Regions from separate parts of the Homo sapiens genome. Here region 1 is linked to region 2. The links are contacts of gene promoters, found by promoter capture Hi-C in human tissues and cell types (Jung and others, 2019). All regions are on one chromosome and are shown on one strand. The core of a region is centred on a gene start or on the middle of the fragment in contact, and the rest is flanking DNA. Distances in the headings are between cores, read along the strand shown. Region 1 has its middle 34 kb from the start of KRTAP21-3. Region 2 holds the start of KRTAP21-3 (keratin associated protein 21-3).

Region 1 (4,231 bases), core at 747-3,246, 34 kb after region 2:
ACAATGATATATATTTAAAACTAAAAAGATAATTCTAAGAGTTGTTGAGAAGGTAAAGCAATGAAAACGTCTATGTCATGTAGGTGGGAGTGTAAATTGATACTACTGCTTTGGATCACAATTTAGCATTGTTTCCTGAAACTAGATCTGAACATACTTTATGAAAACCTTCAATTCTCCCCCTGGGTAAACACTCCGGTGCTTAGAGACATGTGGAAGACCCTTTAGAGCAGTATTATTTGAAACTGCAAAATAACACATCTCTTGTGGGCATACATAGAGGTATTTGGATGAGGTCAGATCACACAGGCTAATTCAATGGTATGGTTAAAATTCTAGCTCATACAGTGAGTGGTGTGTTCATTATTATGCTTCAGAACTCATGTATAAATTACATATATTCCTTTGTAAGCATACACACTACTTAATTAAAAATAACAACAAAACTTTGTCTGTGAATATGGATCAATAGAAAAGAATCTGGAGACCGTGAATATTTGTTTGATGTTCCAGAATTTTCTTTTAATGAAAACATCCTAGTTCTATTTAAAGGTGCAGTCAATATTCCTTCAGATGAGAACCTTGATTAGCCTCCTAAAGGTTTACAATGAGGTGCCAGTCCTACTATCCCCCCTGGTTTATGTAACTTAGCAAAAGGGAGACCCCAGAAATTCATGCCTCGTGTTATAACTGAATTGTATCTTCCTCCCCTAAACCTCCAATTCAGATGATGAAACCCTCATCCCTAATATGACTGTATTTGGAGGTAGGGCCTTTAAAGAGGTAAGTAATGTTAAATGGGGTTATAATCCACAAGTGGGGCCCTAGTCCAGAAGTATTGGTGGCCTTATAAGAAGAGGAAGAGACAGTAACAGTGAAAAGGCCACATGAAGACACAGCAAGAAAGTAGTCATCTCTAAGCCAGGGAGAGAGGCCTCGCCGGAAACCTAGCTTGCTGGCACCTTGATCTTGGACTTAGAGCCTCCAGAAATGTAAGGAAATAAATTTCTGTTGTTTAAGCCACCTAGTCTGTGGTATTCTGTTACGGGAACTTGAGCTTGCTAATACAACACCTCTATGGTAGATGTCAGGAAATTTGAAGAAAAATTCAGAGATGCCTGTAATGGTTATGTAGTTTCTTGTGACCAGCATCCCCATGGTGAAATATTACTCCTAGTACTGTCTTTGCATTTGACATCTTATCTGGTCCAGATTATTTTACACATTTTCCTCCAGAATCATCATATTTTTAAAGCTGCTTGAAAGCTTTTATGGAAAAAGCAGGATTAAACAATCCATAAAGTTTATCATCTTATGTGTTAAGCCAGGAAGTTACTACAGTGGAAAATAGCCATTGCTGTGCCAGAGGGAGAATGATACAAAGCCTGTGCAGGGCTACCCATTCTGCCTCTGTTCCTGTCTCTGTGCATTTGTGTCTATGTGAGAAAGTATGGCCGGGAGCGGTGGCTCACGCCTGTAATCCCAGCACTATGGGAGGCCGAGGGAGATGGATCACTTGAGGTCAGGAGTTCGAGACTAGCGTGGCCAACATGGTGAAACCCTGTCTCTACTAAAAATACAAAAATTAGCCAGGGATGGTGGCGCCCGCTTGTAGTTCCTGCTACTCTGGAGGCTGAGGCAGGAGAATCGCTTGAACCTAGGAGGCGGAGGTTGCAGTGAGCAGAGATCGCACCACTGCATTCCAGCCTAGATGACACAGCGAGACTCTGTCAAAGAAACAAAGAAAGAAACAATGAAATTAGGAAAGAAAGAAGGAAAGAAAGAAAGAAAGAGAGAAAGAAAGAAATTGGAGTACTTTTTAAAATTCTGTGGAGTTATTCCAAATTATCCTCATCACACTTTGCCCTGCCAGAGATCGATATAATTTTGCTTCCATTGTTCTATTCACTATGGACTGGCCATCTAGGCCAGGATAAGGAGGTGACCCTTGACAATGCCTCCATAAGGGTGAATCTCTCATCAGTGTTCAAATTCACACAGCTGTGTTTGTAGAGCAAAGCATCTAGTCTGATGATACTCGAGCTTGCAGAAAATAAATCAAACATCTGGAAAATCATGAGAGAAACATATGCACTTTAAGTAGAAAAGAGCCACTTAGCTCTTTTTTTCTGTAGAACTACCTAAAGAGGCAAATTATGAACTCTACAGCAAATGAGATATTATCTTACGCTTAGGCAGAACGGTTTAGTGGAATGATTGCTGATCCATGACTCAGAAGAGTCTCAAACTCATTGCAGTCAGCTTTTTGCCCACAGTTGCCTGCCAAATCCGATCCTGTGTACTTTATCTATAATGCCTTCCGCTAAATAACGAAGATCAGTTCTCTGTTCTCAACTTACTTGACCTATCACGAGCCTTTGCCAGTCCATTATTCATTTCTCTTTGAACATCTTTCTTCCTTTGACCTACAAGTCTCCATCCTTTCTTGCCTTTCCCTGTTTCCTTGGCCAAGCTTTCTCGGTCTCCTTTCTCCTATCTCTATTTTCTCTGACATTTGAATGTTAAGATGCCTCTGTCCCAGTCTTAGACCTCTTGATTTCTCCATTTCTATCTGCTTCACTGTCATCCTAAAAGCTCATTTGGTCTCACAACTTTTAGTAGCGAGAATGCTGCAAGCCAGCTGCCCCTTAAAGGCTGGACTCCGGCTGCTCCTGTCTGCTGCTTGGAAGCTCTTCCTGCAAGTATCAGTGAGGTCTACTCCTTTTTCTCCTTCTTTTTGCTCAATGAAGCTTATCCAAAGAAAGTACTTTAAAAGGTAATTTCTTCCTCTCTCTATCCTCCAACTCCTGGAATCATTGGTCCCTTTACCATCTTCTACATTTCCCCCTAAGTCCCTTATCACCATCTAATTACCATATCTTTTTTTTGAGACAGAGTCTCGCTCTGTTGCCCAGGCTGGAGTGCAATGGCACGATCTGGGCTCACTGCAACCTCCCTTTCCTGGGCTCAAGTGTATATCAATTTTCTCTATCTTTTTCTTTTTTTTTTGAGACGTTGTCTCTCTCTGTCTCCCAGCCTGGAGTGCAGTGGCGCAATCTCGGCTCCCTACAACCTCCGCTGCCCAGACTCAAGAGATTCTCCTGCCTTAGCCTCTCGAGAAGCTGGGACTACAGGCGTGTGCCATCACTCCCAGCTAATTTTTGTATTTTTCAGTAAAGACGGGGTTTCACCATGTTGGCCAGGCTAGTCTCGAACTCCTGACCTCAAGTGATCTGCCTGCCTTGGCCTCCCAAAGTGCTGGGATTACAGGCGTGAACCACTGTTCTTGGCCTGACTACTATATTATTTATTTATCACTTGGTGAATTGCGCGTTTCCATTGCCGTGGCAGGCTGAATAACGCCCCTGAAGACACCAGGTCCTAATGCCCAGAACCTAAGAAATGTTACCTTGTTTGGAAAAATGATCTCTGCAGATGTGATTAAATTAAGGATCTTAGGAAGGAGAGATTATCTTATATTATCTACATAGGCTCTAAATGCAGCTATGAGTGTTCCTGTAAGAGAGAAGCAGATGGAAATTTGATGGACATAAGTGGGAGCAATGCGACCACAGAGGCAGAGACTAGAGTGATGTGGGCACAAGCCAGGGAATAATTGTAGACACCAGAAGCTGGAAGACGCAAGGAACAGATTCTCCCCTAGATCCTCTGGAGGGAATGAGGTGTTGGAGACTCCTTGATTTCCTTGATTTGGGACCAATTATACTGATTTCAGACTTCTGGCTTCCAGAACTGTGAGAAAATAAATTTGTGCTTTTAAGCTTTCAAGATAGTAGTAATTTGTTACAACAGATATAGAAAATGAATGCAATTGCTACAGTATAAACTCCATGAGAGCATGGGTCTTTGTAAGTTTGATTCACTGACATATCTCAAATGCCTGGAGCATAGTAAGCCACCTTGCTTACTTTTTAGGGATGTTTTAAAACTTTATGAATCTTCTGTGTTCTTACTATCCATAAAGTGTTTTTTGACACTTTCTAGTTAACAGTAGACTTTAGCAAAAATGTTCCTGCTTATGCTCAAATGATGTCCTTGATCATTTTCAGGTGCCCATCAATGGTAGACTGGGTAAAGAAAATGTGATATCACACACACACACACACACCGCAGAATACTATGCAGCCATAAAAAAGAATGAAATCATATCCATAAGAGCTAAACATTGAGCACACGTGGACATAAATGTGGGAACAATACACACTGAGGA
Region 2 (3,945 bases), core at 1,065-3,564:
GCCCTTAAGTAATCCTCCTGCCTTAGCCTCCCAAAGTGGTGAAGTTACAGGTGTGAGCCACTGTGCTCAGGTACCAAATTTTAGAAGCTTTTTTCAGATTGTCTAAGATTCAATCCTCACTGAGCATCTTAAATATAGATTTTCAACTCTCATGGGCAAGAAAATACCATATTTAGGTTGAGTTGAGACTAATTTTGTAATTGAGTCCCATCAAAGGTTTATTTTCAAAATATTCAGTTTAATCTAGGCAAAACTGCTTACCCAATGGTTATTTTAAAAGATGACCTTCGAGACCATCCTGGCTAACAAGGTGAAACCCCGTCTCTACTAAAAATACAAAAAATTAGCCGGGCGCGGTGGCAGGCGCCTGTAGTCCCAGCTACTGGGGAGGCTGAGGCAGGAGAATGGCGTGAACCCGGGAAGCGGAGCTTGCAGTGAGCCGAGATTGCGCCACTGCAGTCCGCAGTCCGGCCTGGGCGACAGAGCGAGACTCCGTCTCAAAAAAAAAAAAAAAAAAAAAAAAAAGATGACCTGTTTGACTTAATGTGGCCTATTTGCTTGTGCTGTATAAAAACGCCAACAGTCTCTTTAGTGATTTGGAAACTTGAACACTCATAAGATTTTCATATTTGAACATATACTCTAAGACGATAACTTTCAAAAGAACTTAAAAGTTATTTCTCAACTTAAAAAGTTATTTTGTTACACAAATATGTTAGTTTATTGAAGAATGTCAAGCTGGTTTTCTTTACACAGTTGTCCTCCTAAGGATAATTAAAATGCTATCATGGCGTTCCAGTTTGTACTCCTACTACAATACCTGGCATTTAGGTGCAAGTAAAACTTACAGCGCATATGTAAATTGTGAATACTCTGAAGGTGTTTTTATTTTATAGTGTTTGATAGCACATTTTAAAATCTTGGAAACTCTATTTCTTGGAATACATTTTAATACCTCCCAGTCCTAGTGTTCCTGGAAACATAATTGGAAAATAAAATGCCACAAATTCAATGCAACCATGGCTAGTGCTCAAGGAAAGATCTTTGCTCAAGAGAATAATTTAGCAAATAATGGTTTCGAAGAAATAGGACATTACTAAGTACACTGGATAAATGGTTGTGATTTCTGTATCTCAAAATATTGAGCTGATTATGCCATTAATTTGCTCAAAATCTTCTCTGGTTCTCCATTACCTTTAGAATGAATTCCACACTTTTTACCTTAATATTCAAAGCTCTTTATTATTTGGCCCCAGTTTATTATACTTTTTTAAAATCTATTTTATTCCCTAAAGAAAAAAAGAAATTCCTGCCTTCACAGATATCCTATATTCCAGTGAGAAAAACAGTCAACAAAATTAGTAAAATGCAAGTCTATCATATGGTGATAAATGGCTTGATAAATGCTAAGTAGAGAATAAAGATATATCTGTGGGAGGGTGCTAGCTATAAATAATACTGTTCAGGGAGGGCCTCCTTGAGTGACATTTGAACACACTCTGATGGCAATGAGGGAATGAGTCATAGATATGGGTGTTAAATTGTAAAAACTGCAGGTGAAAGCCCAGCATGGATGAAGGCCCTAAGTGGACCTGGTCTGGATTGTTTTGAGGTCTATTTCATAGGATTTCTCTTTCCTTTTTCTCTAACCGCATCAATCTGAGACTTTTTTTGTGTAAATGTTTCTCTTCCTTACTAAGCTGGGAGTTCATTGAAGGTCTGTTCTTGGTCTTATTTATGTTTTTCATTTTTATTTTTATGTTATTTTCAGCAGTGCCTACTGTCATGTTCTGTTTTTTAGGAAAGTTCTCAATAAATTCTAATATTATAGAATTGAACGCATGTTTCTCAATTTAGCCTTCCTATGCCTATCCTCTCCTGAGTAGTACAGTTGTGGATTGGATGGTAATACTGGTGGCACCTGAAAAGGTAGGAATCACTAAGCCCCTTCCTTTCTCTAGGAGGCTGGGGATGGGGATTCTCAATGTTTTGGGTTAGAGCTGAGGGAAGTACTTCCCTGCAAGATTTAGCATCATGATATTTGTGGAGTGTACATTTGGGGCTCACTGAGAACATGTATACAGAGTGTACAAATTACTTTTTACAGTCTATGATTAACTTGCAGGAATTAAATGAAGGTCTAAAATGAGAGGCTTTCTTAGGACACAGAATAAAACAACAACAAGCTTGTTAAATATAAATTCTTGTGGGAATGAGAAGGCAAAGTAGGGATGGCACACACTTTGCAGACCTCTTATTATATAGAAAGATCCCAAGGGTTCCAAACTCCAGAAATGCTGTTACCTGGCTGAATTCTCATCTCCTGACACTATGTATTTCAATTACAAAAGTGTGTGTGGGAGCTGTGGATTTGGCTCTTGCTATGGTTGTGGGTATGGCTGTATACACAGCACCCACTGTGGCTGTAACGGTTATTATGGTTGTTATGAAAATAAATATTCTGTTATAGATGATCTGATATTTTTTGCTTCTAAGAAATGCCATTGAGCATTGTTTCTTATTTAGTTTCTCAAAGATCTGTTCTGCTTTAATCACCTTCAATCCTGATAGTTCTCCGTTAGAGAAAAATGACTCATCTGGTGAAAACTCCATTTGTCTTCAAAGTACCTGTTAGTCATAGACATAATGTGGTTTCACTGAGAGATGGAAAATATGACTATTTTGAAATTTTGAAAAATATAAAATGCTCTTTGTGTGCGTGTGTGAGTCAACACCAATTTGGGGCATGTTTTACCCCCTTGAAAGCCAGACCACTATGTAGATTAGTTGATCCTTAGCTTCTTAGAAATTTCTTCTTAACTTTCAATAACTCTTTTTCTCTTTATCTTTTCTACTCTACATAAAACTTGAGTTATTTAATTGTCAGTATCCACCACATATTTAATATTAAATAAATATGTACCTGTTAATTAGATATACTTCTAAATATACAAAATGAAGAAAGGAAGTGGAATGATATCATCCTTAGTGTAGAATAGTAGATTATTATCAGCCAAAGAAAAGGGAGGAGGAGAGAGAATCACTGAAACATTTTTTTTTTTTTTCGAGATGGAGTCTCGCTCTGTCACCCAGGCTGGAGTGCAGTGGCGCGATCTTGGCTCACTGCAACCTCCGCCTCCCAGGTTCAAGTGATTCTCCTGCTTCAGCCTCCCAAGTAGCTGGGATTGAGGCACCCGCCACCGCGCCTGGCTAATTTTTGTATTTTTAGTAGAGACGGGGTTTCACCATGTTGGCCAGGCTGGTCTCGAACTCCTGACCTTATAATCCACCCGCCTTGGCTACACACACACACACACACACACACACACGAACACAATGATTCTAATTCTAATTCCGTCGGCCTTTTCTCAAACATTCTCATAGACAGTTCTGTCACTTTTTTTGGGATTCTGGTTAATATGAACTCCTTAGGAGACTTTGCCTAACATTCCACTTGAAATAGAAATGACATTCTTACACTATTTCCCTGTTCATCACCTTGCATCTACTTCTCCTCTTCCTCCTCTTCTCCCTTCTCCTCCTCCTTCTACTTCTCCTCATATCTTTCTCTCTCTCAAAATCAAAGTCAAAAATCAGTTGTTTTTTTCTTCAGTTATATTTGTTACATAATTATAAAATTATTTAAGAAAGCCCGGTGACAGAGTGAGACTCATCTAAAAAAAAAAAAAATTCCTGACTCCATTCCTGTGGTGGCGAAGGAATTGCTCTATGAGACTGCTATGTATGATAAAGTGAGTCTAGGACTATTTATATGGGGATATCAAACAATTCTCCTCTATGGCAAAGTGTAGTCACAACATTTCTCTTTCTTAAAAAGCACAGGCTTTGGGGCAACAGAGAGTGACATTAGATGCCAATGTTCCCATTCCTAGCTGTGCATGTGTCAGAAAACTTCTTAATCTTCATATTTCATAAGTCTCCTCT

The links. Contacts are between HindIII fragments. The study calls those that stand out against the background at their distance.
Region 1: a fragment that was not itself captured here is called in contact with the fragment with the promoter of KRTAP21-3 in region 2 in 2 of the 25 tissues and cell types used here (aorta and stomach).

The regions. Positions count from the first base shown.
Region 1 is chr21:30,682,748-30,686,978 of GRCh38, reverse strand. No RefSeq gene overlaps it. Among named protein-coding and RNA genes, the nearest start is that of KRTAP21-3, 34 kb to the left of the region's middle. The HindIII fragment of the contact is 4,885 bases long and covers 1-4,231 here.
Region 2 is chr21:30,717,146-30,721,090 of GRCh38, reverse strand. It overlaps KRTAP21-3 (keratin associated protein 21-3), which reads left to right and starts at 2,314. Exons shown (of 1, transcript NM_001164435.1): 1 at 2,314-2,566. The coding sequence starts at 2,332. The coding sequence ends at 2,508. The region is part of intron 2 of LOC105372773 (a long non-coding RNA gene); the gene reads left to right. The HindIII fragment of the contact is 17,351 bases long and covers 1,138-3,945 here.